2 separate regions of the Homo sapiens genome follow, and region 1 is linked to region 2. The links are contacts of gene promoters, found by promoter capture Hi-C in blood cells and fetal thymus (Javierre and others, 2016). All regions are on one chromosome and are shown on one strand. Each heading gives the region's core, a stretch centred on a gene start or on the middle of the fragment in contact. The rest is flanking DNA. Distances are from core to core; before and after follow the strand shown. Region 1 has its middle 4.9 kb from the start of NAA30. Region 2 holds the start of SPTSSA (serine palmitoyltransferase small subunit A).

Region 1 (6,768 bases), core at 3,268-5,767, about 23 Mb after region 2:
GGATACATAGTAGTCCCCCTCTATCCACGGTTTCACTTTCCATGGTTTCAGTCAATCACAATGTGAAAATATTAAATGCAAAATTCCAGAAATAAGCAGTTCATAAATTTTAGGATGCACACTGTTCTGAGTCACATGATGATATCTTACACCATCCCACTCTGTCCCACTCAGGATGTGAATCATCCCTTTGTCCAGCATATCCGTGCTGTTTGTGCTACATGTCTGTTAGTCACTCAGTAGCCAGCTAGGTTGTCAGATTGCAAAAAGAGTATATATAGCACACTATCCATGGTTTCAGGCATCCCCTGGGGACTTTGGAACACACCCCCTGCAGATAAGGGGGGGCTACTAATTGCATATGTGTGTATAGACTTTAAGGATTTCTGAAATTAGTTTTTCAAGTCCCTGTGGGAAAAAATAAACATCGTGATACATTGATGGATTGTTTTTAATCCTGAAAAAAAAGGCCTCTTCATCTAACAATAGGGGATATTCATTAAATGTTCATAAAAAATCTTTACAGACACCAGAAAACATTTGTATAATATTAAGGTTTTTAAAAGTACACAAATTACATGTGCAGAAAAAGCTGATCTCTCCTATATAAAAAGAAATGTACATCTATTTACATAATAAAAAGATTGGAAGTACATAAAAGTGTGTATTGTAATTATTTCTGAGGGTCATCTTGTGTAAAATACTTTTCTTTTTTACACTTTTCAGTGTTTCTCTGTATGAGCATGTAATACTTTTGTTAAAATACCAAGAGTTATATAAAAAAAAAATAATAAGATGAATTCCTTGATATGTAGGCAGCAGTTTCAAAAAATGTTTTAAGACTAAAGAATAGCCTAGAGGCAGTTAACCAATTGCAGTTACTTGAAGTGAATGAGGGGAGAGGCTAACTTGGGCTGGACCATAGAATTAACTCTTGAAATAGGCCATAAGCAGTAGTTCAGACAGCTGGTCAGGGAATGTCCCTCACCTTTACCACCTATCTCAATAGATCTAGGAAGTGGCTTTTTCTTTGCTTAACAATAGGTCCAGTGATAAGCAGAACTGCCCTCCTTCAAAGCTCCCTGAAGTGCAAAAAGACTAAGGAAGATCAAAGGAACCATTAGGCACTCCCTGAATTTCAAAGGTTTCTCCTATGGGAACTCTGAGAAGCAGCTGTGTGTTTGTACATTACATAGAAACTTCCATTACTGTGCATAAATATAACATGACAAATATCTTGGTCACTTTATCCTTTCCACTTCCTTACTATGGTTGCATTTTTGGGTTGACAGTTTTGTAAACACATTAAAATGAGGAACACATCAAAATATATTAGGAATGGAGATCTACATTCCTAATAGTAAGCACTATCCTATTCTTAGCATATCATGTTTGTCCTTTCTGAGCCTAGTTTTTAAAAGTCTTTGTTTCTATATTTTCTCACTCAGAGACAAAATAATGAAATAAACATTTTGTTTCACATAACTTGTGTTTTAATGCAATATTCAGGCATTACAAAATCATTTTCCTTTCCTGGACTGGCTTCACAGAATCAGTCCCCATAATGATGGAAAATGTCCCTTCACCAAAACATGTGATGCACGATGTAGTGAGCTAAAGCCAAAATAATTCAGTCAACCGTGTGTATGTAGACTGTTGTATTGTTATTGAACGCATTGCCTCAAAGTGTTCATTTTAATAATAAAAAATGCATCTGGGGCCGGGCGCGGTGGCTCATGCCTGTAATCCCAGCACTTTGGGAGGCCAAGGCAGGTGTATTGCTTGAGCTCAGGAGTTCGAGACCAGCCTGGCCAACATGGTGAAACTTCGTCTCTATCAAAAATGTAAAAAATTAGCCAGGTGTGGTGGCGCATGCCTGTGGTCCCAGCTACGGAGCAGGCTGAGGTGGGAGAATCACCTGAGCCTGGGAGGTGGAGGTTGCAGTGAGCTGAGATTGTGCCACTGCACTCCAGCCTGGGTGACAGAGCAAAACCCCTGTCTCAAATAATAATAATGATAATAATAATAATAAGAAGAAGAAGAAGAAGAAGAAGAAGAAGAAGAAGCATCTGTGATTATTTTAAGTAAAATAATCTTAAGACCCAAGTATATCATATATAAGATGAGAAGTTCTATATAAGTAAACTTAGTTAAAGGTATATACACCAAGAGTGAGATCTACATTCTGAAAAGGTATAGAACAAGATCAATCTTTCATTCTTGTATTCAAAATAATGTATTATGTATATACCAATAAAAAGAGGAATAAGACATAATTCCTACCCTTAAAAGACTTCTAGAAGAAGCAACAGAAAAACAACGATCACAGAAGTCTGCAGCACTCACAGAGTAGGTAGAAGCCAGTTTTGCGAGAGGTGGGGAGGTGTGTGTGGTGTGTGTGTGTGTGACAGAGAGAGAAAGAGAAGAGAGGGAAGGGGGGTGCATTATGAGGGGTGATGATTCCAGGGACCATCAGCACAGACACAGAGGCCAGAAATCATCTTGTACATTTTGGCAAGTGCAAGTTACTTGGTTCAAAGGTCATTCATTTATATACACAATAATTATTAATTGAATATTTTGGGTTGAAGCTGTGAATGGCAAGAAGTAACTGCTGCTTCAAGGTAAGATCACCAAAAGGGCTTTGTTTATGTAGTGAACATAAGTGGTTGCCTTAACAGCATCCACTCCACATTCTTCTTCCTAACACAAACCCAATTTTGTTTAGTATACATCCCTTTTCCACACACCCATACACCTCCAAGGAAGCTCACCTCACTCTTAATCTCCTTCCAGTGATTGACTCAGAAATAGCATGTGATATATTCTAACCAAGAACATAGCCAGAGAAGTTGGTTAGAGGTTTCTGGAAAAGTAAATCTGCGAGTTACTGAAAGCCTCTCCCTTCCTCTTACTGGGCATGAATAAAGAAGCACTTAGCCCCAAACACTTTTGGCAGCCATATTATAACAATGAAGGAAATCAGCATTAGGATGGAGCTGATTCTGTGAATGGAAGGAGAGAGACAGAAACTTGGGTTCACAATGATATCATGAAACAACTAATCCCGAACCTCGCTCTGCCTCTGACTGTCTCATTTCCTTATTTTTTTTTAAAGCCAGATTGAGCTTGTGGCCAAAGCACCCTAACCAAAGTTTAGATTTGATTATTAGGCTATGGGAGTCTCTGAAGAGATTTAAGCCAGGGAGTGACAAAATAGGTTTGTATTTTGTAAGGGTGGCAGTGGTAGAAATGTTGAGGATGGATGGGTGGGATGGGAGATCAGCTAACATTTACGGGGGCTTCCTATATTCTCTGTATTAAACACTTTACATATAATAATTCATTTTACCCTTCCAAAACCCTACAAGGCATGTAATATTATCCATATCCGATATGAGGAATCTGAAGCCCAGACACATTAAGTTGTCAACACCACACAGCCAGTAATTGGCAGAGCCAGGATCTGAACTCCAATTTTACTTAGATACTCCTTCATCCCCCAGCCACATACATCAGGAGAAGCTCACCTCATACTCAATCTCAGACAGGCCTGATTGACATAAGAGTAAATCCAGCCCCTTTCCAGTGTCTGGCTCAGGAATAGGCCAGTGATCCAATTCTGGTCTGGCTTCTGACCACCAATTCATAGGGTTATCATAAGAACTAAATGAGCTATTATTTATAACATGCTTAATACATGGGAAGACCACAATAAATGGTAGCTATTGTTATTATTAAAAGCTTCTATTATCAAGAACAACTGAGAAAGAATGTCCAAAGGAGGGCAAGAGAGAGTGGAGAAGCCAAGGGAAGAGTTTCTGGAAGGACACAGCAGGATGAAATGCCACGATGGAATAAAGTGATGTGAGAACTGGAAGAGTCTAGTTAGGACATAACAGGTGATTTTTTGCCAGAGTGTTGTTTGAAGAAGGGCTGAGATTGAAGCCAACCCACCAATGAAGAGTGAACCTGCACCTGAGTAGAGACAGTGGATACCTATTGCAGATTAGGAGTTTGTGGTGAAAAGGAGGCAGGAAAAGGATGGTAGTGGGAGAAATCTCTAAATGGGGCATGTTTATAAACTTTGAGGCAGTAGCTAGCAAAGGTAACATGGAAAATTCAGGAGAGAGAAACAATGATGGGACAGGTTCTAAAGGAGCCTGAAAGAGAAAGCATCAAGCCCACAGGTAGAGGGAGGTATTAGTCATGAAGAATTGATCCATCTTCCACCCTCTTAAGACTGGGAGGGAGGAGGTAAGGGTAAGTTCAGATACAGATGAACTTATAGGTATGGCAGTAGAAGGCACACCTATGAAATAGTTCACTTTTCTTAGTGAAATGGAGGCAGGGTTATCTGCTGAGAGTGTGAAGCAAGTAGTGGTTGAGGACAGTTGCTGTTGGATGAAGCTGGCCTTGGAGACAGGTTAAAACAATTCTAGACAGCTGAAGGCATAGCTAAATTAGAGACCAAAAATTTTTTGGCTCTAATATGTAGGAATATATGATTCTCTCCAACATGTCTCACCAGCCCAGGTGTATCTGTGAGAATCACCCTGACCATGTCTTCAGGCAGGTCATGAAGAGTTAGTGTGAGGTTGAAAATAATGGAAATGGGGACCATTTGACCACAACCCTCTCTGGTTCTTCATAGTCCTCTGAGGCCTCAGTTCTACAAACAAAATTGATGCCTACCTACAATTGGTACTGCCATCCACTACTGGCAAGGGGAAAGAAGTTTAAAGAACAGACTGTCATTCCCCAAATTCGAAGGGAAGAATCAAATTGTTAGTCTTTTACCTGGGCATCTCAGAGTGTTCTAAGATTACAGGTAATACAACAATATACTAATATTCATCCTTTGGTTAAGTTCTTCAGCTCTCAAATTTGATGTATGTTCTTTCTTTCATTCAAGATGAAACAAAGTTAAGGACATTCATTTTCAGGGCTTTATGTATAATAGATAGGATTAGTGGGATTAAGAACCACATGACATGTAAAATAAAACTACACAAATATTTAAATTATTTAGTATGTGTGCCTATGGCACATAACAATGTCATCCTGCTGTGTCAAGGGAACTTAAAGCATCTTTCCATTATTCATTCCCACAGTTACCTTTCAGGTAGGTACACAGCTAGGTTTTCTCTCTAAACCTAGCCAATAAGAGAAAAATGCCTCACTGTTAGAAAGAATTAAATAGAAATTTTTCTCCTTCCAAGCTGATTTCAATAAATTGCTTCAGGATGTTGTTTTAAAATTGCTATTGGTTATTTTAATTGATTTAATGAGAAGCTTTTTTTTCTTCTAAAAAATTAAGGCATGTTCTCTTCTTCCTCAAAAGAGAACAACAATAGTAAAAAAAAAAAAAAAAGAAAAAAAAAGAAAAGAAAAAATGGCTGTTGCTTCATAGGATATTACAAAACAATGAAAATATCAACTAACCACACAGAAGAGTATCACTGCTACACTCACCTTGCTCTGAGCCCATTCTTTCCTATGAAGTATTGCTCATGGAGGTAGTTGTTTTTTCAGAGTCTCATAATAGTAAATATGTCTAAAGCATTAGAGTGAACTAATCCTATTTCTATGCCTAAAATAGTGCTATCATCCTATCAAGTAAACATGAATCAAATAGAAAAGATTTCATAAGTTATAAAGGCAATTTTTTTTAGAGATGTCATCTGATTTAGAAGGCCAACATTGTAATTTTAATACTGGGATATAAAGAAAAATCACTGGGGCTGAGACATTAGAATTACCCCACTAGTTATTGAGGAGGTCAGAATTTACTTTGTCATTATAAGCATTCTAGGTTACTGAATGAGAGACTGGTGTACTTCAGTCAAAAAGCTTAACAATTTCCCTTTTATGTGTTTGATATGTGAATACAAAGTGACTAACATTTACTCCCTGGCCTCAAGAAGGTCCTTACAACTCTTGACTTTCTGAAAACCACTTTGAGACAACATCTGGTCAGCTCCTCAGTGTGACAGAGCTCAATGCCAAGTTGCAACACAGAAAGAACAGGAAGGCCTGCTGCCATTCATTCACTACAGTGAAGGTACATGCTTTTTAGGAAGGGCTTACATTTAAAAGTAAATTACTGAGAGGTATTTTTCTAAGTAAAATTCACCCTTAAACATCTCTTATGGAATTATCTGGTGCCTCTTGGGCCAGTTTTTCCACCATGATTTGAACAGATCATTGTTTCATTGGCTGACTACCCAGGTTACACTTAGAAACTTTGAAAAACATGTATCTTTAAACAATGTATGCACATTTGGAAACATGGTTTTGTTTTGTGCTTTTTAAAAGACAGAAAAGGGATCACGCTGTACTTATACATCTCATTTATATCCCCCACACATCAAGGTGTTTAGGAGGTTTTCAATGTATCTGTAGCAAGTTATACATTCTGAAAATGGCCACAGCAATATTTCTGGTCCCATATGCTCTTTGAGAACCTTGCCTCTCTCCACCAAGAGTAGAGTCTATTTCCCCTCCTGTCAAAACTGGATATAATTTTGTGTCTGCCTAGATACAATGCAGCAGAACTGACACTACATAACTTGTTTTTTGTTTCTTTTTGATGAGAGGGAGTCTCCCTGTGTTGCCCAGGCTGGAGTGCAGTGGCGCAATCTCGGCTTACTGCAACCTCCGCCTCCCGGGTTCAAGTGATTCTCCTCAGCCTCCTGAGTAGCTGGGACTACAGGCATGAGCTACCACGCCCGGCTAATTTTTGTATTTTTCGGCAGAGATGAGGTT
Region 2 (6,148 bases), core at 1,869-4,368:
CATCTATCCTCTTTAAGAAATTAATCTGGGCCAGGCGCGGTGGCTCACACCTGTAATCCCAGCACTTTTGGGAGGCCAAGGCAGGCGGATCACTTGAGGTCAGGAGTTTGAGACCAGACTGGCCAACATGGTAAAACCACCCCACCCCCACCCCACCCCCAACTCCGCCTCTATTAAAAATACAAAAATTAGCTGGGCGTGGTGGTGGGCACCTGTAATCCCAGCTACCTCAGAAGGCTGAGGCAGGAGAATCGCTTGAATCCGGGATGCAAAGTTGCAGTGAGCCAAGATTGCACCACCACACTCCAGCCTCGGCAACAGAGCGAGACACCGTCTCAAAAAAAAAAAAAGAAAAAGAAAAAGAAGAAAATTAATCTGGCCAGGCGTGGTAGCTCATGCCTGTAATCCCAGCATTTTGGGAGGCTGCAGTGGGCAGATCACTTGAGGTCAGGAGTTCGAGACCAGCCTGGCCAACATGGCGAAACCCCATCTCTACTAAAAATACAAAAATTAGCCAGGCGTGGTGGCAGGCACCTGTAATCCCGGCTATTCTGGAGGCTGAGGCAGGAGAATCGCTTGAACCTGGGAGGCGGAGGTTGCAGTGAGCCAAGATGGCGACATTACACTCCAGCCGGGCAACAAGAACAAAACACTGTCTCACACACACACACACAAAGAAAAGAAATCAATCTGAAGTCTTCCTCTGTTCAGGACTTCTAACTCAGAGACAAATTTTCAGACAGGCAGAGGCAAATTTCTCTAAATTTTAGGTTTCTAGGATTGATGATTAAGTTGAATGTAATGTTTAAGCTGTAGAAAGTATGCCTCTTTCCAAAAGCCTGTAGCTGGCCACAGATTAGTTCTGGGTGAAGCTTACTAATCATTAATGGATTTATGAAATTCAAACTACTTCAGAGTAAGCCTCCTGACAAGTAGGGAAAAAAATCCAGTTTTCTCATTCAGTTCTTTCCACCAAGCTAAAATGAGGATTCAATCTCAAATTGATGTTCCAAACTATCAGATAGTTTTAAATGATTCTAGAAGTTGAAGTGGAAAAATATAAATACAACAGCTGATAGTAATTCAAGACTGGCTTATGTCAAACAATTGCATTTCTAACCTGAGTTAATTCAATAACGTGAAATTTGAAATAAGATTTTTTTATCTTAAGTTTAAAATCATAAGGTTCTATAATATTGGATGTCAGTTGGTTGCAGTTCTCACCTATTTGAAAAAAAAATTGAAACTACTTGTCGCTAAACCATGGTAACTCAAAAACATTAAAGGCAAATATCTACTAAGGCACTATATTTCATTTCATAATTTATTTCTCCATCCCCCAAAAAAGGCATCACCTAGTTATTTATAGGACACTATCACTATTGCAACATAACAGAAAAATCTTAACATCATTGATAACTGTAGCATTTTAGTGTGTAAAATCTATATTAGATTTTAGGTGTCAAATCTATACTAGATTCTAATAGTGCACTCTACATTCAACCTCTGATTTAAAGAGTTTCATTTTAACCCAGCATTGTTTAAATTAATTTTAGGATGTGTTATGTCAGTCAAGATATACTTGCTTCTACTGAGAGACTTCTATTAAATATGCATTCAAGTATATATTTTACAAGGCATGACCTTGCGAGCCCTAAAGAGTGAGACTAAACTGCAGCTACAAATAAATGGTGCAGGAAATCAAAGCAAACTATATTCAGAGTCTAAATCCAAAATATGCATTCTGGTTCTTAAATTCCAGGTTTGGAAAGAAATGCCAACAGTAATAAATAAATAAACTGCTTTGAAAGCATCTCAAATTCCTCAAAAGTGCTTAAACAAAAGACTCAGCTTTGAGTACAACCTTAAGCTATCTCAAAACAAATAAACACACTTGATAAGGCTTAGAATGAAATTACCTCAGTCACTCACTGGAATGCAACAATGCATTCGCAAAGTTATTCTGAAGTAAGCTACTCCAACTAAACCACACTGAAAAGGAGAGAACGTGGATAAACTAAACATGTTTTGTGAAATACCTGTTTTGTATTGGCCTGAGTTTTTTAAAAGTTACATCTCATTCATTATCAGTATTTAATCTGCAAGAATATCATCAAAGGATGTCAATATGGACAAGCAGAGACAAGAAACATCAGACTTTCAGGGAGCCTATCTTCACAACCCTGAGTTATTAACTGAAGTTCTCAAAGTTAGATGAGTTAAGATACAGACAACGTGCTTTGCACAAATGCTTTGCTTATAGTAACCACTCAATAGTCATTAACAAGAATTTATTAACTATCCACCAAAACACAGTTTCAAACCCTACCGACAACTAACCACAAATTGCACCACTTTTCGGGCCGACTTCTACGGACGGTGCACAGAAGCAATAAATACACTTTTAAAACTCCCCAACTTGAAGACCAAAAAGATACAATAACTTAAACTGCTTTCAAAAACTACTGGAGTGTCATGCCTACAAATTCAGAACCTGGCTTAAAAGCTAGTTAACTGACTAGAATTCTTGGTAGACCCAAAGCCAACTAAATCAGGAACACTTAAAGGTCAAAGGCGTCCAAGCCGGGAGCGATGTGCTCCACTGTTACATGATCCCCGCCTCCTACAGGAACAGGGGACTGAACCAAAGGCAGTTGCGGCCGAAGTGCAGGCGACACACAGGGTTACACATCACCTTCGGAGATTTCCTCCAGGAATCAAGACGCTTCCCCCTTGGGTCCAGCGACTCACAGGTGACCCCGGATCTCAAGAGTTCTCGTCTCCCCCACCCCCCACTTAACCCCGCGAGCGCCGCCCTCGGCCCCCAGACCTCCCCCTGCACCCCCGGCTTCCGCGCACAGGACCGGCGGGGCCGCCGCTCCAGCCTCCACCCCAGGCCCGGGGCCTGGGGAAATGCGGCCCCGCGGCCCGCGCCCCCAGCCCGGCCCCCGCGCGCGCGGCCGGGACAGGATACTGAACACCGTCCGCTCCCAGGGCTCCAGCATGTAGAGCGCCGTGACCAGCAGGTACTGGTAGTAGAACCAGGACATCTGCTTCCAGGCCCGCGCCAGCGCCATCCCCGCCATGCGCCTCCCGCGATGCAGCTCACACGTCAGTCTGTCCGGCCGGCCGCCCGCTCACGTCCTAAAGCCCCCGGCCGCCAGGCCCGCCCGCCCGCCACCCAGCGCCCATTGGCCCGCCCGGCCCCGCCGTCACCCGCGGCACGCCCAGACCCGCGCGCGCCCCGGCCGCCGGCCCCCAGCCCCGCCCGACCCGCGCTCATTGGCCAGGCCGCTACCTCGCGTCGCGTCGTCCCCTCCCGTTTCCCCGCCCGGGCATCGCCCACGCTAGCCGGAGAACGGTCCCCGCGAGAGCGCCCAGCCGCGCCCCACCCCGCCCGGGCCGGCCGGTGGTGGGCGGGGCGTCAGTGCCGGCCGGGGTCCCGGGGCCCCCGCAGCCCAGCGGGCGCTCGGTCCGTCCAGACTGGCCCAGAGCGCTTGCGGAAGAAATATTTCTGGAACACTTGTTATGCCTCAGGCATCCTTCTGAGAAGGAGGATTGCCAGGGAGAACCGGAATGCCTTCGGTTCCTTACCTTGTGCAGCTGGCGGCCTAGCTGGGAGACAAGCATTAATCAAGTCGTGATCCGTGTAAGAGGAGATAAGGGGCTGAGAGAGGGTGAGGAGGCGAACGCCACCTAATAAGGAGGTCTGGAAAGGCGTCCTTGTAGAAGGGATGCACATTCGGCCTCCTTCCTCCCTTCCCCCACCCATGCACACACACACACACACACACACACACACACACACACACACACACACCCCTAGACGGACATAACCCATGCACTCCCTAACCCAGAGACCACTTACCAAAAACATCTATCTGCCCACCTCTTAGTGGCTGTAGGTAACCACCAAGTGGGTCAAGGCCAGAAGCGCGCTGATCTAGTGGGTTCTGCAGAAGACAGGCAGCTTGAGATTGGTGTGAGGGCTGGTGATACTTCCCTAGAGATGCACTCCTGGATGCCCAGATTTTCCCACTGCCAGATGGGCCAGCAACATTGCACTGGCCACAAGGAGCTCCATGCACTGGTGTAGCATGTGAACTGCCACAATTAAATGGCCTGCTGTTTAAATGTTAAAAGTCTTCCAGGTTAAACATACTACTGCTTAAACTTTAAAAGTTTCATGGTTAATAACTATTCATTAAAAGTACCAAGTGCCGGCCAAGCGCCGTAGCTCATGCCTGTAATCCAAGCACTTTGGGAGGCTGAGGCTGGCGGATCACTTGAGTCCAGAAGGTCGAGACCAGCCTGAGCAACATGGTGAAACCCCGTCTCTACCAAAAAAAATAAGTAAATACATAACAAAAAGTTAGCCAGGGGTGGTGGCGTGCACCTGTAGTCCCAGCTACTCAGGAGGTTGAGGCGGGAGGATTGCTCGAGCACGGGAGGTCGAGGTTGCAGTGAGCCAGGATGGTGCCACTGCACTCCATCTTAGGTGGCAGAGCAAAAGAAAGGAAAGAAAGGAGACAGAGAAAGAGAGGAGAAAACAGAAGAGAAGAGAAGAAAAGAAAGAAAACAGTAAGTAATATCAAGTGCCAGACATTGGGATAGCAAGCCAGATAGACTGAGACCTGCCTTCATAAAGTACCCAGTCTGCTGGGGAAGAGAGGCAAGTTAATGGATTACAGTGAGGTGTGGTAAATGATATTTTTGTGGATCGTATCCTTTAGGATACCAAGATAGCCCAGACAAAATCAGATTGGGCTTGTGAAAGTCTTCTGAGAAATGGTGCTTGAACTGAGTGTTGAAGGACAAGCAGAAATGGAAGAATGAATGAGCTTGGGGAAGAGAGGGTGAGACAGACATTCTAAGGATGAAGTTGTGATGTTTTTAGAAGACTGGAAGAACTTCCATGTGGCTGGAGCAAAAAGAATGTATATGCAGTAGCAAGAGATGGGCCTAGACAGCAAACAGGGACCATATTCTGAAGGACCTTGTTTGAGAAGCTAAGAAATTTTTAACTTGATGTCCAAAAGTTACTGGAGCCAACAACTTAAATAAGATTTTCTTTCAGGGCTGGGTGTGGTGGCTCACACCTATAATCCCAGCACTTTGGGAGTCCAAGGCGGGTGGATCACATGAGGTCAGGAGTTCCAGACCAGCCTGGCCAACATGGTGAAACCCCGTCTCTACTAAAAATATAAAAAATTAGCCGGGCGTGATGGTGGGTGCCTGTAATCCCAACTATTTGGGAGGCTGAGGCAGGAGAATCGCTTGAACCCGGGAGGCGGAGGTCGTAGTGAGCTGAGATCACACCATTGCACTCCAGCCTGGGCAACAAGAGCAAGACTCCGTTTAAAAAAAAAAAATGCTTTCGGAACAAGACTTGGGTGTGGGTAGTAGCCTGGAGGCTACCGAGGGAAAAAACAGGTTGGGAAGACATTACAAAGGTAGAACCCACAAATACTTGAAACCTCCTTACCCCTCAGAGATGCAGGTACACGTGCCCTCCTACTTTCAAACTTAACTGTTTTGGACTTCTTTCTGTCCCTGTTCCTGTTCAGGCACAGGCAAGCTCATTCCTTTTTCCTCGAGAACTCCAACTACCCTCAGCATCTGGTGATGCTACATAAAATTCATCCAAGATTGGAAGCATCACCCGTAGCCACCCTTCCTTTACTGGGTCCACTCCCTAGCACCATGTCTGCCAGGTGGTTGTCCTCACTGTTAGTAGCTCCCAATCCACTGCGTGTCTCTCGGAGACCAGCTCTACCACCTCATCTCACTAAAGTTGGTGACTGACTAGAAATGAGGAAAAGAGGCTGAGATCCTGGATGATGACAATACAAAGAAACCGAAGGAAGACGTTTGGCTGAAAAGATATTGATTTTGTTAGGATGAAGCTATGTCTGAGGTACCTGAGGGACACTTAAATGGAGGTGTCCAGGGGACAATTGAGCACATGGTTTGGAACTCAGAAGTGAAGCCTGAATGGAACTAGAGGCATATGAATTTTCAATATGTCCCTGGTCATTGAAGCCAGAAGAGCAGATGAGGTCACCCAAGGAAAGCACATAGAATGGGAAGAGCAGGGTACAGAATAAACCCAGAGATTCTGGCATTTGGCCAATGAGAGTCCAAAGGA

The links. Contacts are between HindIII fragments. The CHiCAGO score rates a contact against its expected background, and 5 or more counts as called.
Region 1: a contact is called between a fragment that was not itself captured here and the fragment with the promoter of SPTSSA in region 2, in 1 of 17 cell types (activated CD4 T cells). The highest score is 6.1, in activated CD4 T cells.

What each region holds. Positions count from the first base shown.
Region 1 is chr14:57,382,285-57,389,052 of GRCh38, forward strand. No RefSeq gene overlaps it. Among named protein-coding and RNA genes, the nearest start is that of NAA30, 4.9 kb to the right of the region's middle. RefSeq lists an enhancer at 690-1,524. The HindIII fragment of the contact is 1,551 bases long and covers 3,743-5,293 here.
Region 2 is chr14:34,459,122-34,465,269 of GRCh38, forward strand. SPTSSA (serine palmitoyltransferase small subunit A) reads right to left here and starts at 3,119. Exons shown (of 2, transcript NM_138288.4): 1 at 2,975-3,119. The coding sequence starts at 3,086. RefSeq lists enhancers at 2,332-2,441, 2,982-3,932 and silencers at 2,842-3,011, 3,132-3,641. The HindIII fragment of the contact is 5,560 bases long and covers 871-6,148 here.